Regions from separate parts of the Homo sapiens genome. Here region 1 is linked to region 2. The links are contacts of gene promoters, found by promoter capture Hi-C in blood cells and fetal thymus (Javierre and others, 2016). All regions are on one chromosome and are shown on one strand. The core of a region is centred on a gene start or on the middle of the fragment in contact, and the rest is flanking DNA. Distances in the headings are between cores, read along the strand shown.

Region 1 (2,736 bases), core at 187-2,686, 78 kb after region 2:
ACCTGGGTGGTGGAGGCTGCAGTGAGCAGAGATCGTGCCACTATGGGTGACAAAGCAAGGCTCAAAAAAAAAAAAAAATTGGTAAGGTTGAATAAGTGACACAATCAGATGTTTCGTTTTTAGCAAACTTGATTGAGTGGCAATGAATGAGATTTCTAGCATAAGGAACTAGCATTGGTAGAGATAAGGAACACAATGGAACACAATAAGATAAACAGGCTGGAAGAGAGAAGTACTTTAGTTAGAGATATAACCAGGCAGTTAAGTCCAATGGCAGTTACCAATAGGAATTTCAAGCTCAGAAGAGTCAGAGGAAGTCACTGGTCTCTATAGCCTCAGAAATGGATGAAATCTCAGGCCTCAGAAATGGATGAAATAGCTGTGGAGGGAAAAATACAGTAAAAAGATGACCAAGGAGAGAAGTGTAAATAACCCCTAAGCTTAACCAGCAGGTGATGGGAGAAAACCAGAAAACGAGATTAAGAGAATAGAGGAGAAGGAAGAAAACTCAGGAATCAATATGACACAGAAGCCAAAAGTGGAGCACAAATCAGAGGTGTTATCAACAGTCTGGCAGGATGAGAGCTAAAAAGACCCTGAATTGACAATGGGAAGTTCATCAAGGGTTTTACAAAAGTAAAACAGTGAAGAGGGAAGTCGGATTGAGATGAGACTGGATAATTCCCTTGACCCCCTCATGGCTCGGAGCGTGGCTCGTTTACTCGGCCACCACACACTCAAACCCCTTGCAAGAGGCAGTGTGCAAGCGAGTGAGTGAGTGTGGGAATCAGAGCAAACGAATGCGGGAACCAGCCAGTTGCTCCTCTCTGGCAGGCGCAGGCTCTATGCGGCCCCGCAGCAGCATCCAAGTGTGTTACAATCAATGCTCCTTCAACGCGGCCATTCGGGGATGGCCAGGTGCCAGCCAGCTCAGTGGAGGGTCAGGGTGGCAGCCCCTGCCCTCTCCTCTTGGCACCCAGGTTCTCTTCCAGTGTCCAGGAATAATCAGATCACATGAACAGATTGAAGGGTAGTATATGCAGAAGATTGTATTGCACGATGGAAGTGGTTCTCAGCAGAATGGGGAGTTGAAAAAGGGATGGTATGGGAAGAAGGTGATCTTTCCCTGAAGCCAGGCCATCTCCGGCTGGGCCTATTCTCCAAAGCTGCACCATCTGAAGTTAGCCACGTCCCATCCATAGTCTCCAACGCTCACCTGATTCTCTGCTCGCTGCTCAGCCACTTGTATCACCAACACTCAGTGGCTTGTATTTCCGACAATCAGCTGCTTGTATTCCCAACACACAGCCATTTATATCCCTGACGTCAGCTGCTTATATTGTTCTCCCAGCTGCTGAAATCTTTTTTGTTTTTGTTTTTTTTTTTTTGAGACAGAGTCTCACTCGGTTGCCCAGGCTGGAGTGCACTGGCACAATCTGGGCTCACTGTAACCTCCGCCGCCCAGGTTCAAGCAATTCTCCTGCCTCATCCTCCCAAGTAGCTGGGATTATGGTGCCCACCACCATGCCCAACTAATTTTTGTATTTTTAGTAGAGATACGGTTTTGCCATGTTGGCCAGGCTGGTCTTGAACTCCTGACCCCAGGTGATCCACCTGCCTCGGTCTCCCAAAGTGCTGGGATTATAGGAGTGAGCCACCGCACCCAGCCCAGCTGAAATATTTTTATGAGCACAGGATAGGGGCATGGCAGGCCAAAGAGGCAACATTTGGGTGGGAAAAAAAATGGGGTTAGCTGTTTTCACTTAGGGTTGCAGTTCCAGGTTTAAGGGTGGAATTTAGCCAGGAGCCCAGCCCTTCTGTATCAAGGTCATAAAATCATAATGTGCTGGAAAATAACTGAGAACTGAGAAGGTAAAGGCAATCATTCTTCGAAGCAAAAAAAAAAAAAAAAAAGGTGGAAGAGGCTTGCAATAGAGAGTGATTTAACTTGAAAAACTTTTCTTATCCAACCCCACCAGAAATGAAGACAAAAAAAAAAACAGAAAACGTTATTTTAGAGCTGTTAGAGACTTGAGCATACCTATCATGTCACAGTGTAGACTGAAGATTAGAGGAAGAGACAAAGTGGGGATTAAAACTAATGGAATAGGGTAAGGGATAAAGGAGGGTGCTATAGTTTGAATGATCCCCCTAAAAATTCATGTACTGGAAACCTGGTTGCCATTGTGGTAGTATCAAGAGGTGAGGCCTTTAGGAGGTGACTGGGTCATGAGGACTCTGCCTTCATGAATGGATTAAAGGTTCAGTATCCTTTATCTGAAATGTTTGGGACCAGAAGTGTTTCAGATTTTGCATTTTGGAATATTTCCATTATACTTACAGGTTGAACATACCAAATCTAAAAATCCAAAATCTAAAACACTCCAATAAGCATTTCCTTTGAGCATCACATTGATACTCAGAAAGCTTCAGATTTGGGAGCACTTTGAATTTCAGACTTTCAAATCAGGGATACTGAACCTGCAATGTCGTTATCACAGGAGTAGGTTAGTTATCATGGGAGTGACTTTGTTACAAAAGCAAGCTCTCTCTTGCCGTTCTGTCTATCCACCATGGCATAATCAGGTGCTGCTGGTACCATATACTCTTGGGCTTTCCAGCCTCAAGAACCATGAGCTGAATAAACAAATCACCCAGTCTCAAAACAACAACAACAATGAAAAGAATTTCAAAAGATACAAAAAAGAAGAAAACAAATGACAACAACAAAATAAA
Region 2 (2,700 bases), core at 93-2,592:
TGATTCATCTAAAATGCTTAATGACATACATGTTGGTGCTTACCTGGGTGTTTTTTCCCTGAACTGTATTTCTCTAAAAATTAATGACTTATACCCTCCTCAGAGGTGCACAGACCATCTCCTCTGGCCCCCAGATCCTTGATAAATGAAGTCTTGGTGTACCAAGCCCCTTCCAGCCCCTCCTGCAGGATGACCGTGGGGCACCATTGCTACCGCTCCCGGGGTTCCCCATCTCCGTCTCTGTGCGACGGGAGGAACGCTTCCCATAGCAGACTGAGCAAAAACAGGGCTCAAAATGGTATAGACACACCATAGCTTCGTTTGAAAATATACATACATAAGGGGAGAAAGGATGGAAAGACCTCAAAATGGCTGCCATGGTGTTGCCACGGGCATGTGCTGGGGGGAGCAGGGGTACTGGTGATTGATTCATTATGGGTTGATCGATGGGGTATTTGACAAATGCTGGCTCTGGCAGCACATATACTAAAATTGGAACGATACAGAGATTAGCACAGCCCCTGCCCCCTTAGCTGGTATGGCATGCAAATTCATGAAGCATTCCATATTTACTTTAAAAATTATTTGGGAGGCTGAGGTGGAAGGATTGATTGAGCTTGGGAGGTACATGCTGCCCAGCTGACATGACACTGCTGCACTCAAGCCTGGGCAAGATCCTGTCTCAAAAAAAAAAAAAAAAGAAAGAAAGAAAAAGGAAAAGAAAAAAAGGAAAGGAAAGGAAGAGAGAAAAAAGAGCAAGCGAGAGAGAACGAGAGAGAAAGAAAAGAAAAAAAGATAAAGAAAAAGAGAGACCTCTTGCTCTCTCTCGAGGGACCTCTGCAGACCCTCTCCTCCCCAAAGGTGGGTCCTGTGGTCTACAAGATTTCCTGTACATTGCGAGCCCCCGCGCCCACCCAAAAAAAAAAAAAAAAAAAAAAAAAAAAATTGGTCGGGTACAGTGGCTCACGCCTGCAATCCCAGCACTCTGGGAGGTCGCTGCCGGCGGATCCCTTGAGCCCAGGAGTTCAAGACCAGCCTGGGCAACACAGTGAGACTGTCTCTAATATATATATATATGACAACGCCTCTATAATACGGCAATAGGAACTGTGGCATCAACGTAGGTATACAAGAGGCCCCGAGAGAGCGAGTCCCGGCCGCGCTCACCGCTGTAGTAGGGCAGCCACCGATACCGCCGCCCCTGGAACTCCGCTCCGTCGAACTCCGCGCACTGCTCGGCCCGGAAGTCCCGGGCGCCGTCGGGGCAGCTCTGCGGGGCGGAGGGGAAGTCGGGATCCAGGAGGGCGGAGTCCGAGGTCCGCCCACCTCCCGCCCCGCCCGAGCCCAGGGAGCCCAGGAGTCTCCCTTGCCTGCCCCATCGGAGCCGCCGGAGGTGGAGTCCGCCCCCCGGACCCCCGAACTCCTGTGCGTGCCCCTCCATGGTGCTCTAGGCTGTGGAGGGCAAGGCCAGTCCCCGGGAGCAGGGTGAGGAAGGGGCCCCCACGCAGCCCTGCTGTGGATTGGCGGGAGGACCCCAGGCTGGGCCAACCCAGCAGCCCGCGGCCAGGAGCGGGCATCCCAATGGGGAAATCGGCCAGGAGGGGCTGGGGAAGCTGGTGCCTTCGCCCGCGCCCCGTGAGCTTTACCTCCGTGCGACAAGAGCGGTGGCTCCGGGCGGGGCCCACGCAGCTGGAGCCTCCATCTCTCCTGCGGGACCAGAGCACCGGGAAGACCTGACCGAGACCCAACGTCCCTGCCCCCGTTCTGGGGCTCTCTGCAGGCCCCAACTTCTGCGGGACTCTCCAGTGGGAGCAGCAAGGTGAGAGGGTGTCCCCCGACCCCACCCCGTAAATCCCCCAGGTGGGAGTGAGCGACCCATGTTGGTACTCCAGAGAAGCGGGACTCAGAGCCCTACCCACCCTATAGTTTGGATTTAAGGCGGGACCACTCCACTGCATCTTAGGCAGATTCCCAGAGAAGACCCGAGGTGCATGAGATATAATACCCACCCGCTTGGCACAGCCATCCTGCGATCTAAGCAGGACATCAGTATAAGGCTCTTAGGATCATTCCTGGTCTCTCATTCCTCCTCACATAGGGTTCTCAGGAACAACCCCTATACAAACCGGGACAGAGGCACCTCACTACTCCTTCTGTGCCCCACCTTCTCCACTGACCCTGCCGGAGTGCAGCACACACAGCAAGCATTTAATAAATCGCTTGAAGTGGGGAACATCTGTACTCGGTAAAGAAACCACAGGAATTGGGAACTGCCGGTTGAAGATTATTTACCAGTTCCAGCAAAATTGACTGCACCTGCCATACTGCAGGCCGGTGCAGCATCAGGAGCTGGAGACCAGGGGCAACAGGCAGCACGCGTGCTCCAGCTCAGAGTGGAAGGCCCTGGGAAATGGTTTGATTTCCTGCGCTGAACTGATGCTGCTTCCAGAATGAATCTGCTCCTTGGTGGGTTCTGCTGATGTGGCCAGTGCTAGCCTAGGCCACGACCACCTAGCCCACCACCCAGAAGGCAGCATCCCCTGCTCCTGCTTTAACAAGCTGGCCCATTTTCATCTCTCCTACCTCTGGGAGTAGCAGGGGCGCTCCCGGAAGCTGACACCCCCTCCACAGGTCCGGCTGCAGGGGCTCCACTGGCTCCAGGGTCCCCAGGTGTCACTCTGCCGCCTCACCTTGGGAGCC

The links. Contacts are between HindIII fragments. The CHiCAGO score rates a contact against its expected background, and 5 or more counts as called.
Region 1: a contact is called between a fragment that was not itself captured here and the fragment with the promoter of PAPLN-AS1 in region 2, in 1 of 17 cell types (endothelial precursors). The highest score is 5.2, in endothelial precursors.

What each region holds. Positions count from the first base shown.
Region 1 is chr14:73,167,007-73,169,742 of GRCh38, reverse strand. The region is part of intron 3 of PSEN1 (presenilin 1); the gene reads right to left. Among named protein-coding and RNA genes, the nearest start is that of PSEN1, 32 kb to the right of the region's middle. RefSeq lists enhancers at 1-426, 427-1,363. The HindIII fragment of the contact is 1,987 bases long and covers 443-2,429 here.
Region 2 is chr14:73,244,643-73,247,342 of GRCh38, reverse strand. PAPLN-AS1 (PAPLN antisense RNA 1) reads left to right here and starts at 1,342. Exons shown (of 2, transcript NR_135248.1): 1 at 1,342-1,819; 2 at 2,099-2,700. PAPLN (papilin, proteoglycan like sulfated glycoprotein) reads right to left here. Exons shown (of 27, transcript NM_001365906.3): 3 at 2,584-2,699; 4 at 1,647-1,707; 5 at 1,168-1,270. It also overlaps the pseudogene RNU6-419P. RefSeq lists enhancers at 1-82, 221-290 and a silencer at 1,238-1,507. The HindIII fragment of the contact is 12,638 bases long and covers 1-2,700 here.